2 separate regions of the Homo sapiens genome follow, and region 1 is linked to region 2. Evidence: promoter capture Hi-C in human tissues and cell types (Jung and others, 2019). All regions are on one chromosome and are shown on one strand. The core of a region is centred on a gene start or on the middle of the fragment in contact, and the rest is flanking DNA. Distances in the headings are between cores, read along the strand shown. Region 1 overlaps CNGB3-AS1 (CNGB3 antisense RNA 1). Region 2 holds the start of CNGB3 (cyclic nucleotide gated channel subunit beta 3).

The links. Contacts are between HindIII fragments. The study calls those that stand out against the background at their distance.
Region 1: a fragment that was not itself captured here is called in contact with the fragment with the promoter of CNGB3 in region 2 in 3 of the 25 tissues and cell types used here (H1 embryonic stem cells, mesendoderm cells and neural progenitor cells).

The regions. Positions count from the first base shown.
Region 1 is chr8:86,782,003-86,787,258 of GRCh38, forward strand. It overlaps CNGB3-AS1 (CNGB3 antisense RNA 1), which reads left to right. Exons shown (of 5, transcript XR_001745726.1): 5 at 1,871-1,972. Among named protein-coding and RNA genes, the nearest start is that of CNGB3-AS1, 21 kb to the left of the region's middle. The HindIII fragment of the contact is 7,048 bases long and covers 1-5,256 here.
Region 2 is chr8:86,740,584-86,745,841 of GRCh38, forward strand. CNGB3 (cyclic nucleotide gated channel subunit beta 3) reads right to left here and starts at 3,051. Exons shown (of 18, transcript NM_019098.5): 1 at 2,916-3,051. The coding sequence starts at 3,044. The HindIII fragment of the contact is 5,975 bases long and covers 1-4,644 here.

The DNA of each region.
Region 1 (5,256 bases), core at 868-3,367, 40 kb after region 2:
AAGTGTTTCAGATTTTAATTTTTTTGGAATATTTGCATATACCTAATAAGGTATCTTGGAGATGGGGCCCAAGTCCAGACAAGAAATTTATTTATGTTTCATACACACTTTATACACATCGTCTGAAGTTTATTTTATATAATATTTTAAATAACTTTGTGCATAAAACAAAGTTTTAACTGTGACCTGTCACGTGAGGTCAGGTGTGGAATTTTCCACTTGTTATGTCATGTTTGTGCTCAAAAGGTTTTGGATTTGGGAGCATTTCAGATTTTGGATTTTTGGATTAGGGGTGCTCAACTTGTATGTCAGTTTCCTAGGGATGACATAACAAATTACCGCAAACTGGGTGACTTGAAACAGTAGAAATTTATTCTCTCACATTTCATGAGACCAGAAGTCCAATGTCAAGGTGTCAGCAGGGTTCCTTCAGGAGGCTCTGAGGGGCAATCTGTTCTGTGCCTCTTTCCTAGTGTTGGTGGTTGCTGGGAATCCTTGACATTCTTGGCTTCTTGACACAGCACTCCAATCACTGTCTTCATTATCACATGGCTGAATTCTTCATCTGTGTGTCTTTACATGGCCTTCTTATAAGGACATTAGTCATTGGATTTAAGGCCCACTTAATCCACTATGACCTCATTTTCACTAATTACATTGGCAAAGACCCTGTTTCAAAAAGAGTGACAGTCTTAGGGAGAGGGTGGATATAAATTTTGGGGGAACACTGTTCAACCCAGTACATCTACACAGGAAAAAAATCCAACAGAATCAAGAGACAAATTCAGAATGCATATGCAAAATTGCCAGACAGAACCTCAACATTTAACAATCAATAACATTTCTCTATACTATGACCATCTAGAAAATATAACCAGAAATAAAGTATTTACAATAGCCACAAAATTCATAGACCTTATAGGAATAAACATATTAAAAAATATATAAAACATTTATGAAGAAAATTCAAAAGCTCTATTAAAGTATATTTTAAAATTTGAATAAAAAGAGAATAATAAATTAATAAATAATAAATCATAAATAAATTTGAATAAAAAGAATAATCTTCAATGGGATGGCTTAATATGATAAAGATGTGTATGTGCATTCTCTTATTAATTATAAATTCAATGAAATTCCAATCAAAACCTATCTTTTATAAGGAGCATGATAAACTTATTCTAAAATTGATATGGAAGAATAGAGAGCAAGAAATAGGAAAGACAATTTTGAAAGAGAGTAGTAAATGAGGAAAAGCTGAATATTTTAAAAGAACACATGCAAATAAAAAGGTAAGCATCAAACATGTTAGAATAGATGCCTATAGGAGGTGAAGGAAATGGGAATAGAGACCAAAGGTCATAAATACACACAAAAAGGAAAGCCTTCGCTCTGGCCAATGGTAGAGAGTATGAATGAACTGAAGCTTAAAATAAGTTGCTCAGCGAGCACAGTATCAGAACAATGCCATTTCTTCAATGATTTCCATCTCAATAGAAGGAATAGAACATTTAACGGCATTTCCATGTATTAGAGATCTGTGTGCCAGCTCTCTATATCTCTACAATGTTATCTTACTATTGTCTATCTAGCTCAGTTTTCTAGTGCTGCCATTAACAAATTACCACAAACTTGGTGGTTTAAAACAACAGAACTATTTTTTCTCCCAGTCTGGAGGCCAGAAGCCCGAAATGAAGGTGAGTTCAGGGTTGGTTCCTTCTTAAAGCTCTGAGGGCAAAACCATTTTATGCCTCTCCTAGCTTCTGGTGGGTGCCAGTAATCCTTTGTGTTTCTTGACTAGTAGACACATCACTCCAGTCTCTGTCTCCATCTTCAAATTGCCTTCTTACCCATGTTTCCTCTATTCTAGGGACACTTGTCACTGGATTGAAGGCATATTCTAATTTAGGACAATGTCTTGAGATCTTTAACTTAACTACATTTGCAAAGACCCAATTTCCAAGTAACTGGAACATTCGTAAGTTCAAGTTAAACATGTCTTTTGTGGGGAGCAGCCATTCAATTCATGGAACTATCTTTATACCTAATTAAGCACTGTATCATATAATCCTTACATGTGGAGTATCGTCTGCATTTAAGAGATAGTTAATTGACGCTCAAGGAAATCTGTATCAGCTTGTTTGCATTTCTTCCTCACTCCTCACTTAAACCTGATATGATTTCTGCTTCCTTTTTTTTTTTTTTGCTTAACTGTTAGCTGCCTTGTCCAAGTAGACAAGACTAAAAGATTTTTTTAAGAATCTTAAAAAAATTTAAATCTTAAAGAAAAAGATTTAAATCTTAAGAAAAAATCTTAAAAGATTCTTAAAGTATCTTTAATGTTAAAATCAAACAAGCATTAATAAATGCCAAAAGGAAAACGTACATCACTGTCACAGATTATAATTTAATAAAGTTAGAAATTAATTTTAAGAAATTTAAACAAAAAATGCCAAACCATTTTGAAATTTGTGAAAGGTATACTCCTAAGGAAATCTTACGTGGAAGAGATATATAACAGCTATTGAACACAGCTCCAAAAAATTTTTACTCTAATAATATATGATCAAAGCTATATTCTTAGTAACATTCCTAGTAGAAAATAATTATAATTTTGAATGGAACAACAAGGAATGGAAGCAAATGGAAAATTCAACATCAGAAGCTAGACAAATAAGACAAAGTTCAATAAAGAAGAAACAAAATGTAACAGATAAAATAATGAATTATGTTCCTAAGTATTTTATTATTATCATGCTACTGATTTGTGTACATTGATTTTGTATCCTGAAACTTTACTGAATTTATTTATCAGATTTGGAGGCTTTTTAGGGTCTTTATGGTTTTCTAGGTATATCATCAGCAAACAGCAACAGTTTGACTTCCTCTTTTCCAGTTTGGATGCCCTTTATATTTTTATCTTGTCTGATTGCTCTGGAAGGAGGAAAAAGATCTCTATAAGAAAAACTACAAAACACTGCTGATCATAAATGACACAAACAAATGGAAACAGCTTCCATGCTCTGGATGGGTAGAATCAATATTGTGTAAATTACCATACTGCCAAAAGCAATCTACAGATTCAGTGCAATTCCAATCAAAATACTATCATCATTCTTCACAGAACTAAAAAAAAAAAAAAAAAATCCTAAAATTCATATGGAACCAAAAAAGAGCCTGCATAGCCAAAGCAAGACCAAAAAGAACAAATCTGGAGGCATCACATTACCTGGCTTCGAACTATATAATACAAGGCTATAGTTATCAAAATAGCATGGTACTGGTATAAAAATAAGCACGTGTAATTTCCCTATTAGAGAAGTTTTCTCATTTCTTTTTCAGGGGCTTGTGGTCTCTTGCTTCCTCTGTTGTCTGTCTGTGGTACTGCAACAAGCTGATGAGCTCTCTTTTGTTTTCTGAGGTTCTAGGCATCTAAAGTATGCCAGTTCTGTAAGCAATCCGAATCAGACAAGACAGAAACCAGTTTGTTGAACAGCCCTTCAGAAAGTTGGAACATTGAATACTTGTTCCACTCTTCTCTTTTGTTCCCAAGGGAGAAGCTACTAGCTGGGTAATTTCTCCTGATCTCAGTGAGCTGTGGCAGCTTCTGTCTGTGGCATTACAATTTTTCCGGTAGTGCCATAAGCTGCTGAGCTCTGTGTTGTTTTCAGCAGCTCCAGGCATCCCAAGTAATAGCAATTCCTTATAATTGCTGAGTCAGGCGAGACAGAAACCAGCACCTCAGGCACCCCCTTGAAAATTAATTTCTACTCTTCCTTTCTCTCTCAAGGAGAAGTTTCAAATTGGGATTTTACTCCCATTGCCCTGTGCTAGCTTGGGGAAGGGGCTGGCATGGCTGAAATAAAATGACTCTTCTTACCCATTTTAATGCAGCTATTCTTGGTTTTGGGCTTGTCTGGGGTACTGTGACTTCCTAACTCGTTTCTGCAGTTCTCATAGAGGTTTTTTGGGGCACATATTGTTGTTGATTTGGTGTCTGTATGAAGGAATGAGGGCTTGGGTTTCTTATTCTTCCATGTTACTCACTTTGTCCTTATTTTTTTTTTCAGCTCAAATCTTAGTAGATATATTTGGCTCTCTTTATCTTTCTTTTCTGAGATTCTCAATTCCTTTCTTGCTGGACACTACGAACTCCTAGGTGTCACACTTCTCTAAGCACTGCTTGTTTCCCTTGTAGAATTCCCTTGATCTTTTAAAATCTTACCTGTTGGCATTGTCTCTTTATACTCTTCTTCTTTTGGAATTGGACATTTATGCTTGAAATCTTAGTTCAGCTAGATACATAGATTGGGGGGTTGTAATTCTTCTCATAGGCTTTCTTCTTTCTCACCATCATGACACAGTGTATTCTATCTTAGCCTGAAATGCCATTTCCCTTTAAGTCCCTGCTTAGTGTTCCCTCTCTTCCCCACCATATGCACTTTCCTTTTTGCCACCAGCCAAATTCTAGGCTCAAAGTAGCATTTTATAAATATGAGTCAAACAAAGAAGGGAAAGAAAAATAAATAAAAGAAAAAAGAGAAGAAAGAGAAGGTGAGAGCACAGGTAGCAAATGGCAGAGTTCAAGTTTAAATCTAGATCTTCCAAATACAAATATTGCTCTTTCCAATATGCTATTCATTTCCTAGCCCAAATATGCCTCCTTGGGGAGTGGGTTTTACTTTTTATATTTCTAATATCATTCGATGTATATAATTCATTATTGACTTTAGTTTTTCAGGGAGACATTTTCTAACCTCATCCTGGAAGTCTGAGATTACATCTTACCTGAATTTTTTAAATCTTCTATCAACTAAATAAATTGACTGCCTTAACAAATTTTGTTGACTATGCCCCTTAATTATATCAAACATTTCTTAGTGATTCTAGCCAGATCAGCTACCATATTGTGCCTCAATATAGTCAGCTAGCTCTTCTTTCTTTCTTTCATTCATTAATTAATTCAACTGATATTGTATACTTTCTAAGTGATAAGGAGATAATGAACACTGAGTGTCACAGGAAATGAAACAGAGCCAATGTCACCATTTAAGGAGTTAAGATTGAGTTTGGTGGAAAGTCAGGCAAACCATTTTTAAAAATACTACCAGATGGTGGTATCTGCTATGGAGAAAAAAGACTAGAACTTGGAAATAGAATTTGAGGTTGGAAACAGAAGGCTGCTCACTGAGATGGGAAGGGCCAAAGACCTATCTGAAGGTAACATTTGAATTGGGGCTTGAGTGAAGTAAGGGA
Region 2 (5,258 bases), core at 1,801-4,300:
AAAGGGTGAGTAGATGAGGCTTGAGAGTAGGCAGGGACCAGAAGGACACTGAGAGTCTTGTGTGCCTGCTATAGAGTTTTGACATTATTTATAAGCCTTGTGTTTCATAGAAGCATTTTAAACTAAAAAATAAATTAATTGGCTGATTTTCACTTAAGCCTCACAATAACCATATACATTAGGCAAGGCAGCTATTATTATTAATATTATTATATTATTGAATATGAAATTGATTGAGTGGCTAGTTTATATGAACGTAGCTAGAAAGGTATAAGTCCAGGACTATTTATAAACAGTGAAAAAGCCTTCTGACTTCAATCAAGTCCTTTTGCATCGTTATGATGTTATTCATAAATATTTATATCATAGTCTTTATGTGTATACAAATGTAGATTTATGTGAAGAGTGTCTTCTTCTGGGGTAAGAGAGAGTTTGGATTAGACTGATTTGCAGTTCTTAAATTATTGTTTATTGATAGGTGAGAATTACCCATGACATTTTGGTGTGTAAATGAGCTCTTTAAATGACTCTTTAAAAAACACAACATACATTGATATATTTATTCCTAGATATTTGCTTATAAGACTCTAATCATTTATTCATAGTTCAGAGGCTTATTGTTTAAATGCCATTTTGAAAGGTCGAATTCCGTGAAAGAAAACAGGATTTTAACTTTCTGTCATTTTTAACATTTAGCATATTTGAAATTGGAGATAAACTATTTTTTCCCATACCCACATGTTCTTGGAAAGAACAGATGCAAATAATTGCCCAAATATGACTTTTAAGATATAATGTGGCTGAGCACAGTGGCTCATGCGTGTAATCCCAACACTTTGCAAGGACAAGGTGGGCGGAACACCTGAGGCCGAGAGTTTGAGACCAGCCTGGCCAACATGGTGAAACCCCGTCTCTACTAAAAATACAAAAAAATGAGCTGGGTGTGGTGGCATGTGCCTGTAATCCCAGCTACTCGGGAGGCTGAGGCAGGAGAATCGTTTGAACCCAGGACACAGAGGTTGCAGCGAGTCAAGATTGCACCACTGCACTCCAGCCTGGGCGACAGAATGAGACTCTGTCTCAAAAAAAACAAAAAAAAAAAATCTAATGTGATGCCAGTAGACTTCGCGATTAATATCCACAAATTATGGCTGTTGGAATGGCATGGGATATACCTAAGGGGTGCTCTACCTGTGCCTAATCTAAGTACTTCTCCAATATTCCTGTTTTGAAAGGAAAGATAACTCTTTAAGAAGTTTCTCTTCTTTTTTCGCCTTCTCTCTAATTTCCGTTTATCCTGCAGGCAAAGTATCTTAAAGGGTTGACTCAACTAATATCCCTCCTGTTTTGAGCAGTATAGCCTAGTGATTTAGCTCTCAGGTGCTGAATTCAGATAGGACTTGGTTCCAATCCAGGCTCTGCCATTTGCTAGCTATGTGTAAGGAGCAAATTGTAATAGGACCTGTGACTGTTGTGAGGATTAAATACAGTAGCCCTAGAAAAGGGCTTAGCACCTTGCTTGGCAAATAGTAATTGCTGTTAGTTACAATGTTCTCCAAGAGAATAATATATTAGCTATTAACGGTTTTTATGTGCTCCCTTGGAAAATAATCACAGTAGGCAAGGGTTAAAGATGGATGTAGTGACTTTCCCAGAGCAAAACACAGCAAGACTAGCTGAAGGAAAGTACCAGCTCAATATTTGTGACATTGTATGAGTTCTTAAACATATAGATAACTTAGTGTGGGATTATTTATTTTGACATAAGAATTAGAAAGAAGTCAAGGGCACTCTCTCGAAGCAATACTAACACAGTCCTCCTCATCTCCTCTCTACTGCAAAGCAGTCAACATTAATCAGAAAAGGAAGGCAGATTTTCCACGGCCCATGTTAAATAGTCTCAGTGTTGTCTATCCTCTAGGCTCATTTAAACCCGAACCATTGGACTATGCTCCCCTAGTCCCTGAGGAGCACTCCTGCTTGTACTTGTCATCTCTCATCCAGCTGTTTCAGATGGCAAAATAACTACTGCTCTAAAAATCTTCTGTAGCTCTTTTAGATAATTCTAGTGAGTAATTCACGAAAATTATTCTGTGGATAGTTCTAAGTAAATATTGCTCTTGTAATGATCACTTAGGACTTAAACCTGTCACAGAAACACAAATTCTTATTAATAATAATAATAGCCACTTGTAAAGTACCTACCATGTGCTTTATATATTACTGTCTCTAGTTCTCATAACAAAGCAGAAATTATCATATACATTTTGCAGAAAAATATATTTAGAACTTGTGAAAAGGCTTGTTTAAAGTTCCTCCACCTTGGCAGTATTAAAATTTTGTAGTGTATAATTCTACGTTGTGGAGGGCTGTCCTGTACATGATAGGATGTTGAGCAGCATCTGCAGACTTTACCCACTGGATGCCAGTAACATCCCCACCCCGGAGCTATGACAACTGAAAGTGTCCCCAGATTTGCCAAATGTCCCTTGAGTGGTAAAATCGCTCTCAATTGAGAGCCAATAGGTTTCCTATTGCTCTAGAGATTTATTGTTAACATGTGGTTTATGAAGACCAGGATACTTGATGTTCTTTGTTGAAACTCAATCAAGTAACCAATTTAATATTTGAGAAATGGTTTCATTTTGGATGATGGTAGAAGTGAAAATCAGCAATGAGAAGTCTTACTTGGCTTTTCCAAATCCTAGTATAGTCTCCTAAACATTTATTATTCTTTTTATGAACAAATACATACAGAATATATAAATTAATGAAGATAAGCCCGACACAGTACATGTACCAGATGGTGCCAGGTAAAACTACTAAACAATCATATATCGTAGCAGTGATTAAATGCTATTACCAGATAAGAAATGATGAAAATCAAGGCTTGCATAGGAATGTAGAGGACATACCTGTGCTGTGGTTTGCTGAGACTGATTACTTGGGTGAGAGCCTTCTTCATTCCGACGAGAACTTTGTTCATTCTCATTGTTCTCTCCTATAGGCTTCACCTTGTTGACTTTTGTCAGCGATTTAAACATCTTCTCTGAGGTGGTTCTGAAAACCCTCTGTATTTATGACTGTGCCTTAAGGTAGAGAAATGTACTTTGTTTTCCTTTTCTTTAGTAGACAAGCCAATTAGCTGTTTAATCAGGATTTTGTTCTGGTTAATTCCTACAGGCAACTCCTTAGCTAGTCAGGGCTTTGGCTTAAAAGCAGCAAAATACTTCTGCTTGGGTGATTTGCACTCTGTTTATGAACTTTAGGGAGTCAAAATGATCTTGTGAATAATTTAGAAGTAGAGGATTAAACACAGCTTCATAGTTGATTTGAATGGTTTAAATGTGATCACACAACACATTGTTTTCTTTCTTTTTTTTTCCTTCTAATTACCCACCTACTTATCTTTATCTGTCTAACTTTATGCAAAGTAATATGGAAATGATTAAAAAAAATCCATGAGGGCTTATGATATGAAGCAACTCATTCACTCCTCAAAATCCCCTTCTCTGGTCCTGCAATGTTAGGCCACTATTTTTAAGCTTTCTTTTTCTGTTCTTCTGGTGGTTGATTTCCACATGGCTAAACAAAAAAAAATCTGCTTATTCTACTCTGCCTCTGTGTGTGTGTGTGTCACTTTTGACCCCAAACCTGTGTGAGGCAAAGATACAAGACTAAGATTTGTTAAAGAGAACTTTTTTTTCCCCTTTGCCCGGAGCCCAGACAAAGTTGATGTTCTATGCTGTTGGATGAGATTTTTTAGTGCACCAAAGACGCATGATTTTTTTTAAAGGGGTTCTGTTTTTGTTTTTGTTTTTAATGAGAGCACTTATCTTCTGCAGTTTCAAATTAAAACCAAAGCCTTTATGCAACAAGGTACACACCCACACCCAGGGCAGCCTAAGTCAACCCATCAAATACTTCTTGCCCTCTGTATTTTTGCAATCTGGAAATTTCCTTGAGATACTAGTTATGTATTTTAAGATACGTTTATTACAGTTAATACAGAAAAAAGCCTTTAAGTATTTATGAAGAAAGCATTTTAATTTAGATTTCATATTACCAAAATCGCAGTTCCCTTATGGATTTTTAAAATAAATTAGAAGTTTTAATTTTAGATTCAACCATTTTATCAAAAATAAACTTACCTAATAAATAACGTAATTGAATACATGATTTGACTTATATGGCCTGGAAACACAAAGCTATTTATTTTTGTTAAAAAATGGTGGGGGGTGTTTTGGTTCCATTATTGCTTCAGAAATAATTCTGAATAGATTATCAAATATGTATAGGGCCATTTTAGGAACTTTTCAGATAATCCTGTAATCCTGTAATTGATTACATTTTGAACTTTGGGTATAAGCATAGAAGCTAAGCCAAAGGAAGGGAAGGTGTTAACAGCCAGCCTGTGACTAATTTTTTCCCTTCCTAAGACCTGCAGAGGAAAAAATGACCTCACCAGACTTTCGTATAAATCTCATAGTATTTATCAGTGGAAAGATACCAGGGAGTCCCTATTTATGAAACTTTTTTAGCAGGACATTTCTGGTCTGTCTAGATTGCTTATTGTAAATAAGCCTGGAATTTAGCAGGCTGGCTGGAGAATGGAGAGAGAGGTGCTATGTAAGCTCTGTAAGAGAATGTGGAACGAAGATGTCCCCAAACCAAACTGCCTTCTTTTTGTGAGAAATGTTTTTGCAGACAATGCTCAAAAATTACTTGTAAATGCAAAACCAAAATATGCCAACTGCAGGAGAAAAATGGTCTGTTTTGTTTGGATGCTGTGTCTGACAGTTTGGGGTTTTTCCCAAAATGAATGTTTTGTTTATTCCTGATGGCGGCTTGTAGCCAACGAATCATTAATAAAGTTTGGTGCTATGTAAGATCTGTGATTCTGGCTAGTCTGTTTTGACAATTTAACCCTTTAGATTTGTCACAGGTCAGAATAAATGGGATGGAGATATTATTAAATAATTCAAGCACCTTTAAAATGATTTAAAATACCTCCAACAACCTGATTTTTGACAATAGAGTGGCATTAACATGGGCATTAAAATTATAAATGACTACTTTTATTTTGTCTAGATCAGAGGTCTCAAAGTTTGGAAAATGGACAACTAGAAAGAATTCTGGAATGAAGGACATGAATTTTGGATCATTCTTTTTCACTTTAGTAGCTCTGTGGACTAAAGTAAATCTCTTGCCTTAACCTGGAAATAACTAGGTTGGGAAAAAACAATGTTTGTTTTCTT